Regions from separate parts of the Homo sapiens genome. Here region 1 is linked to region 2. The links are contacts of gene promoters, found by promoter capture Hi-C in human tissues and cell types (Jung and others, 2019). All regions are on one chromosome and are shown on one strand. The core of a region is centred on a gene start or on the middle of the fragment in contact, and the rest is flanking DNA. Distances in the headings are between cores, read along the strand shown. Region 1 has its middle 270 kb from the start of LINC02398. Region 2 holds the start of SLCO1B3 (solute carrier organic anion transporter family member 1B3).

The links. Contacts are between HindIII fragments. The study calls those that stand out against the background at their distance.
Region 1: a fragment that was not itself captured here is called in contact with the fragment with the promoter of SLCO1B3 in region 2 in 1 of the 25 tissues and cell types used here (dorsolateral prefrontal cortex).

What each region holds. Positions count from the first base shown.
Region 1 is chr12:19,738,499-19,743,305 of GRCh38, reverse strand. No RefSeq gene overlaps it. Among named protein-coding and RNA genes, the nearest start is that of LINC02398, 270 kb to the left of the region's middle. The HindIII fragment of the contact is 3,582 bases long and covers 1-3,404 here.
Region 2 is chr12:20,809,124-20,813,675 of GRCh38, reverse strand. It overlaps SLCO1B3 (solute carrier organic anion transporter family member 1B3), which reads right to left and starts at 2,971. Exons shown (of 16, transcript NM_019844.4): 1 at 2,912-2,971; 2 at 38-152. The HindIII fragment of the contact is 19,974 bases long and covers 1-4,552 here.

The sequences.
Region 1 (4,807 bases), core at 364-2,863, 1.1 Mb after region 2:
AAGATACAAGAAATTGAGGGATAACTTCTGTATATATCATGGTTACATTTTAAGGCTAGAAGGCACAAGAATAGAAGACGATGAAGTATAAACATTATGATAAATTTTCAGTACTCTAGCCAGACTCCGTATCAGGCCATCTCTTCCCTAGAGGGATGGAAGAGGGGATTCAGCCACGTCTGTAGAGGTGTGTGTTTGAGAACCAAATGCAGGGAAACATCTCCCTCTCTGATGTTGAAGCTCGGGGCCCTAGTTCATCTGTGGTTCGTGATGGATCCTGAGATATTTGACAAAGTCAACATGAGATGCTCCTAAAGTTAGAAGGCTGTATGGCTGACTTCTTGAGGGATTTGGAGGCATTGTTTGGTGATTCTACAGCGGTGTAGCTGACAATCCTTGAAGCGTGAACATTAGCAACTGCAGAGACAACAGAATCAGCAATGATTCAGGGCTCCTTATCTTAAAGAAAGCCTCCTACCATTCATACCTTTTTTATTTTTTGCTTTTCAAACTACTACTTGATACCTAAGCTTCCTGAAGGCTTAACAGAATCCTTGACTTATATATAAATATATGTTGTTTTACAATCCTGCTTTGCAATATGTATATGACAGCACTATACAAAAAATAATTTCTTTGCCAATTGCCATGGTTCTAATAAAAATAAAGTCAAACTTGATACTGATATAACACTCAGGGTGTTCTTGTTTATGGACATGGTGATTTTGGGGGAAGAAAGGGGCTTTTTCTTCAACAATACATTTTGTAGTCACTAATATATTATTTCATTTAATCTAGTTGCTTCCCTAAGGCTTACCACAACATTCCTTAAAATCTGTAATAATTGTCAAAGTAATTTAGGTTTAACAGGAGTTATCGCTGGCAAAGCTTAGGGGGAAGCAATGAGCATTAAGGTACAAATAACTTCCTAAAAATATCACCTGCAATAGCTTTCAAATGGTATTCTTCATTATCTCTCCACCTACTTCTTAAAACATTAACTCAAAAGACTTTCTTGCTCATTTTCTTATATTTTTCTTTTAAGGGAGCAAAGTTGTGGCATGCTCTAAAGATATGTTATCATTGGCACACAGGCAATTAATTTTTATTAAACAAAAGTGATGTTGGAATTTTAAAATTATAATTAATATATGCTGAAGCAGGGGGAATGAATAGCCTTCCCATTATGAATCACCCAAACTCTCTCTCTAGGTATTCTTTTCACATAAAGTTGAAATGAAAAGCCTTTAGGTCCTTACAGTTGCTGTTGTTGTTTTAATAAATTATTCAAAAAGCTGGTTCAAATGTGATTTTTTAGTAGTAGTGTGCTGGTTTATCAACCAGCTATTATTTGTAGTCTTTGCCCCTCTTTATAAATAATTCCACCATGGCAGATTTCAAGCCACACCATCATCCTGCCAACATGCTGTTGGGGAGAGATTCACCCAATCAGTTGTCACAAGCGGGTATGAACCCATCAGGGCTGAGCTAGAAGAGGAAGAACAACTCCAAGTTTCGCTGTTACACCACCATGTGGAGAAATGGGCAGTCATGTCAGAAATAATCTTTTTCTTCTGCCTTATAGACCTGACAAGCTTCGCTCACTGGGATATTTTCTAGGAGTTTACATTTATCTCAGGTCCTAGTCTAGGAGGTACATCAAAAACAACTAAAAAAAGATGGTTAGGCGGGGGAAGGGCATTCACTTGTCTAGATGATGCCTTAATAGCACTTAGCATAAATTAACCTAGGAAATTCTCAAGGATCCCTAAGGCATAAAGTAGGCAGTAAGTGTGGATTCTATTTGATAGGAAGTTAAAGGTTTCTGAGAAGAAAAGAAATCAAGTTTGGCAATAGAACATTAAACAGCAATAAACATTTTTGGCTGCTTAGTAGAAGAGGCCCGCTCCTCTGGGAAAAAACCACTGCTCTTTATTCCCCCCACGTACTCCAGTCTTTGTACTTTGAACAGTTGTTCCACTTAAAAGTAACCTACTTTTTACCCAGCAAGAGCTCAGGGACCTGGTTAGTATCAACACTTAGAAGCAGCAGCTTCTGTGAATTTGGATCTTCCTTTCACCTCCTCCTGTATTGTCACTCATCATAAAAACGTATGGCTAGAATAAAGTGTAGCCTTATGAAATAGGCCACATTATTGAGAAATTAAAATTTGTTCTATCCTTCTTGCTGAAAACTCACTGTCCAAAAAAAAAAAAGAGAGAGAGAGAGATTATTTTTTTTTCTTCTGTCAGACTTCCTTTTGTGTTCTGAATTCCCCAGGAGAAGAGGAACCATTTTTGGCTTCAGACCCGTTGGAGCAAATTAAGCAATAGAGTCCCAAAGGGCCTGGAGCGTTTTGCCCCACTAGACCCTGAAGTGAGCTAGATATCCAGAGACTGGAAGCTGGGGATGGTGGACTCTGGAGCAGTGGTGGTAGGTTGGGAGTAGAGGACACGCACCTTCACAGCACCTAAGAAGTAGCAGAGCTTCTGTGTGAATGTCTAGAACCCTGCACAGCGTGAAGGTTCTGTGTCAATGCCCCACGAAGGCGGTGAATGGTAAAAGAGAAATGCCTCCAAAAGGACCACACAAGCTTAAACAACAAACATCTCAGTGACTATCAACAAAGGCAGAGAATGGAGGCCCTGGTCCAATTTTTCTGGTTTATTTAAGCCCCTTGGGTCTTTTCCCATTCTGCGTGAAGTAGGGAAGTTCTCCTTAAAAAAAAAAAAAGAAAAGAAAAAGAAAAAAAAACTTGAGTTTGGATGTCCTGCTAGCCTGCTAGCCAGGAAAATGGAATAACCCATATTTAATTTGATTCATAACAATAAAGAAATGAGATGCTTTTTGTATACTGATATTCTTGAACACCAACTGGATACCCTATCCTACTAATCCCGTACTGCTTATGAATGTTCCCTGGTTCCACAAATATCTCCACTGCAAATGAACTAACTACTCAGTTAACTAGTTCAGAGTTCGGACATTTTATATCTGCAACATGTAGATTACCCTAGTCTTGGTATGCCCCTTTTTTATTAAATTAAACTTTATTAAAAATGTGTGTATCCCTCTTTAAATTTGTAATTACCACGAAAAAAGATTCCTACCATATGTTTTTTGCCTGATTTGGATATTTAGATATATCTGAGGGGCATTTCTGAATTCTTAGCTGCTGTGTGCAGTTTTATGAAAAAAAGCAAAAGCAGAAGAAACATGACAAATTTATCGATCTCCACCAATAAGTCAAGTGGCCAAAGCTCCCTTGCCTTCCATTCCGTCAGAGAATAACGGAGCAAAATGCAATTATAAAGCATAAGGTTCTTGTGCAGCTTTGCTCTGAAGACAGTGAGTCCTGTTTTCTGCTTTTAACTAAAAGCAGTATTTCTACCTTCAAATTGGACAAGTCATTTCACCTCTGTGGGCCTTGGTTTCCTCACCTAAAAGTTTGCATGTTCAACTAAATGATCTCCAAGGCTCTTTATAGCACTAAGATCCTATGATTTCAAGCTATTATATGAAATCCAAGAAACAAAAGACAAGAGGAGCATTGTTCTCATTCTATTGTTCATCCAGCTGGATTTATCAGATTAAGATTCTGAGTTCATAAATAAGAAAGAAAAGACACTTATACAATATAGAACGCATTTGCAGTAAGAGCATTTTTCATCCATATGGATCTTAACTATTTCACGTGCTAACAAATAATTGAACAGACTATCTATAGAAATGGTTTTGTCCATTCATCCACTTTTCTCTATCAACGTAAAAATAACTTTATTGCTTTTTTATAAAACTGTGTTTAAATAAAAATAGGAAAATGCAATTTTCAACAGTTTCTGAGATCTAGTTATGAGAGAAGTTGCCACAACCTCAAACATCTCTTCAAATGAGGACAAAGGTAAGAGTGCCATCTGCTGGCCTAAATTGTCTAATTGTGTCTTTAAAACTTTATACAGTAAAATACTTATGAAACTTACCTACATTCTGCTTTGATGAAAACCCTGAGCTTTTCAATAACTTGATGTGTGGAGCTTAAATACAATAATCATTTTTCCAAGTGTCCAAAATACACAAAGCATATGAGTATAGCAAAATATTACTCCACAAACTAAATAAGTACTTAATTTAAATATATCCTACAATATTTACCATATCGAAAAGCTACAAATCTATTGGGTCCAAAGGTAAGTAGATAGTGTCTTTCTTTAAAAGCTTCTGAGAAAACTAGAATATTTGGAGTGTTTGTACAGCAGGAAATGGTGTCAATCATCAAAAGATCCCTCAGTTTAATAGCAGAAACCTGAATGGTAACTCTATAGACGGGGTTTAATTAAGAAAGAAAGAACACACAGTTAACTTGGAAAATCATATATCAGATTTAAGCATAACTTCATGCCTCCACACTGGCATCAATAGGTAGATGAAGGCCACAATGAAACACTAACTGACTCTCCTCTGTGGGATAGTGTGGTATTAACTTCTGGGCTACCAGGAGCACTATTATTCTTTTTTTTTTTTTTTTTTTTTTTTTGAGACGGAGCCTCGCCCTGTCGCCCAGGCTGGAGTGCAGTGGTGGGATCTCGGCTCACTGCAAGCTCCGCCTCCCGGGTTGACGCCATTCTCCTGCCTCAGCCTCCCCAGTAGCTGGGACTACAGGCGCCCACCACCACGCCCGGCTAATTTTTTGTATTTTTAGTAGAGACAGGGTTTCACCGTGTTAGCCAGGATGGTCTCAATCTCCTGACCTCCTGATCCGCCCGCCTCGGCCTCCCAAAGTGCTGGGATTACAGGCGTGAGCCGCCGC
Region 2 (4,552 bases), core at 1,722-4,221:
CCAATAGCACTGTAGTTCATGCCTGAGGGAAACTTACATAGCATATGTACCTCTTCTGTCAGGCCCTCTAGGAGGTGGGAACAACGGGACAACACTTCAGGGCTATGCTTGAAGTCCATTTAAAACAGTAAACTCAGCATCGCAAAGCACAACTATGGAAACAATGTGGCGATAAATGCACTGTGAAGTTTATAGTATGGGAGCTGAGAGAGGAAGGCAGAGCTTCACTTTGTTCCACTTCAACTGGAAACAGAGCAACTCAAATTTTTCACCACTCTGCTCATGCATGCCAATGATCACAAAAGCCCAGCAGTATTAATTTTGGTGTCACAAACAAATTTTAGTGTTTAGACAAATTTTCTAATATAGAATCTGTGAATAATGAAGATCTACTGCATATTTTATGCATTAATTTACTCAACAAGGATTTATTGATTCTCTATATTATAAATGCATAAAAACCATAAATATATATCATGCATATTTAGTGGATAATGCATGAATATGGAAAAATCAATATCTGAAGATATTATCACTTATGTATATGCGAGTGTATATAAATACACTCATGAATGGAGAAACCCATACCTATGTATCTCTAAGAGAAGTTCAATTATTCCACTTTTTGTATGTGTTTTGTAGGTAAAGTGAGGAAAAAAATCAATAATTTGGTGGTCTCAAGGTAATAAGCAGCCCCTTAATAAATTTACACCACTTTTTCCACGAATATCTCTGTTTCTTCATAATTTAAAAGTTGGAAAATATTTATTTTTTACCAATTAATTCTATAATTGCAAATCTTTTTGAACGACTTGCAAGGCAGATAGTCTTCCTTCAGCTTTAGAGTTTTCTTTTTCTTTATACTAAACAAATATTCTTGAAGGCTTGAAGACTATTATCTCACCACTCAAGCCTTGTTTCTTTCAATTGATTAATTTCTACTTGTCCTGTCTTCCAGCTTGCTTTCTTTCCTATGCATATCATGTCCATTCTTGGAATCATTCAAAGATCCCTCTTACAACAAAAATAAAACTTACACTTCCTATTTGAGGGTCTTCACAGCCTAAATGAATCCAAGTTTTTAGTCCCATTTCCCAATACAACCATAAGCACTTGCAGATGTATGGAACCACTGTCCCAACAGAAAAGCTCTCTACCTTCATGTATATGTCTTCCATTCCTGGAATGTCCTTCCCTATCTCTTGGCTGTAATGCGGCTCCAAATCACACCACTTTAATGTTTCCCTATTTACCTCTAGTTGAAATAAACTCTCTCATCCTCTCATCCTTCTGTACCACTGGAGAACATACCCGAATAATCATTACTTTTTTCTGTTATTTCCCGTACTTTCCAAGACAACTATTCCACACCTCTCTCTTTTATGTTCAGATAAAATACCCATCCAGAAAAATAAGAAATGTGGGCACTTGGTTTCTCATCTCTCAGAAAGGTTAAATTGTATCAAGTAGGCCGGGAGCAGTGACTCATGCCTGTAATCCCAGCACTTTGGGAGGCCGAGGCGGGCAGATCACCTGAGGTTGGGAGTTCGAGACCAGCCTGACCAACACAGAGAAACCCCATTTCTGCCAAAAATACAAAATTAGCTGGGTGTGGTGGTACATGCCTGTAATCTCAGCTACTCTGGAAGCTCAGGCAGGAGAATCACTTGAACCCAGGAGGCTGAGGTTGTGGTGAGCTGAAATCACGCCATTGCACTCCAGCCTGGGCAACAAGAGCGAAACTCCTTCTCAAAAAAAAAAAAAAAAAAATGTATCAAGTAAGTACAAAGTACCTACAAAACTTGAATATCAATTTAGCCTTGAATAAATACCACACTTTTTACTTCATTGTGGCATTTTAAGCCTTATTTAGAAGCGTTTAATATATTTTGCTCTGAACATATTATTTCTGAGTTCCAAATTATTGACATAAATAAATGTTGAGGACACAATATGTTTATAGACAGAGCCACAGGCATTTGTATGCAGCATTGCAACTCTTCCCTGAACAGAACAGGTCAGTTCTTCACAGTTTGATTGGGCTGAAGTAGAGGGCAGAATCTTACCAGCCTCTGCTTATTTCTGTTTAGCTTTTCATATTTAAGGGGTTATAGAAAACCAGTGCAGGCCAAGTGACCCAGTTTCTAGCATGTACCTATGGAACTGAGGAGGATAAAAGGGAAAACAGCATTTCCTAACTTCTTAGATTGTTCAGAGGAGAGAATTTCTGCATCCCCACCTTACTTTCACAATAAAAATAACTGTCTTATCAGGGAAGCCACCTTCCTGAATGGGTGAAGGGGACCATTATTTATTGAGCTGTTAATTCTTTCCAAGAGCTGTGCCCAGAAGATTTTTTTCTCTTATTTGAACAGAGATAAAAAAGTTATCTAGAAAATCTCTTTCCCCTCACCCTAAATCAAACGAGTTGAATGGAGGAAAGTGAGGTGATTAAGTGACTTTGAAACATATTTTCCACCCCTCCACCCGCCCACTCCTACTTATCCAGTTAAAGTGAAATCAAAGAAATAGGGAGCCTGGTATAGTAATTCAATACAGTTTATACAAATAATTATCTTATAGTATATTTTAAGAGAGTAACTAGAAGTCCATCCTTTCAGACTTCATGTTTCATTTGTTTAGAAAGCAATAGAAATAGGACTCCAAACTTTATTTTTCACTTTATAAAGGTATGATTTACTCTTATTTTTGAGTATATAAATCTGAGGCTCTTCTATTTCTAGAAGGGATATTTACAAGGCTTTAAGGGCTCAGAACAAAAGTGTGGAGAAGACACAGAGCATAAAATCTGTAATATTTATCATAACTACCAAAAACATTTTCACTGAAATTTGTTAAAATTTCTTACATAAAAGAAATGTTTTAATTAGACAACCTCGACGGTTCTTACCTTGACTTTGAATGCTACAGCAACTGCAACAAGTCCATCCTTTTTCTGATGTTAAAGTCTCACTTTAAATGGTTAGTTGGCTTTTTATTTGTTTGTTTTTATGAGTCCAATGATGATTAACCATCTTATTAGGTCATTGTCCTAGGCAAACAGAAAAAACATACCTAGCTAATTCTAGGAGTTCACCCCAGAAGCCTATCTTTTAAACATTTTATTAATAATTTCTCAGAATGTACACATTATGTTAACATTAGAAAATAAATTATTTCTGGGAATGATTTATTTCTTATTCAATTAAGTTGGTTGCATAAGATTTTCTTCTTTAGAAATACAAATACAACACATTATCCAAAGTATTTAAAACTATTCCAAATAGAAAATATGTCAAGGCGATTTTTTAAAATGTCCCTACATGTTACATTAGCATTCAAAAAATAAAACATACCCTCTTTGCTTGTTACATGTGTATGGATCTAATATGACGTACATGGACACTGGATATCTCACATGGAATACTAAATTGCCAATTAATTACAAGACTAGTCTTCTAAATGACAAAAATCAAGACTAGTTTGTATGATATATTCCTTACATCAATGTGTAAAGGAAGAATGATCTCCTTCTATTGACTTGCTCTTTAGAGAATGGAAGACCTTCACTCAGTTGAAACTTTTCTTGAGTAAGGATGAAGTCAAATTAATTAATTCAGTAACTCAAACATATTTGACTCCCTACTATATCTCAGGCACATGGCTGTGTTTTAGAAGTGTACTATAAAAATATAAATAATAAACGGAGTCTTCTCTCACATGTATATATACACACACATGCATGAGTGTATGTATATATGTATTTATGTGTATGTGTGTATGTATATAGCAAAGAGAGAATGCATGTATGAAAACATTGTTACCCCTTATCACTGACAGGACAGTTGTTGATACAGTTGCAGCAATATGTATTTAATTTCTATATCACAGTTATTTGATAAACTAGTTTTTTTTTTTTTTTTTGAGACGGAGTCTTGCTCTGTCACCCAGGCTGGAGTGCAGCGGCACGATCTCGGCTCACTGCAAGCTCCGCCTCCCGGGTTCACGCCATTCTCCTGCCTCAGTCTCCCGAGTAGCTGGCACTACAAGCGCCCGCCACCACGCCCGGCTAATTTTTTCGTATTTTTAGTAGAGACGGGGTTTCACCATGTTAGCCAGGATGGTCTCGATCTCCTGACCTCGTGATCTGCCCACCTCGGCCTCCCAAAGTGCTAGGATTACAGGCGTGAGCCACTGCGCCCAGCCTAGATTAGTTCTATACCTGGTTAATTCATGGAAGTATTAGAATAATGAAAGGAACCGGAGTGTGGAGGGAGAGAAGGATTAGAAAATGTGGGGAACACTGAAGTGTAGACCTGGGGCAGGGAAAATTAGATATAGGCTCCCAAACACCCCTCTGTTGAGTCAAAATCTACTGGGGAGCCTTTGTCAAAAGTGCGATCCAGCCCCACACCCAAGAGATTCTGATTCACGAGTTCGGAGATTATGCTTTTTAAATAAGCACTTAGAATAATTTTTACATACTGTCAGCTTTTGAGAACCATCATAGCAGAGATACTAAACATTAATTATCAGTTTTATGGCTTTTCTT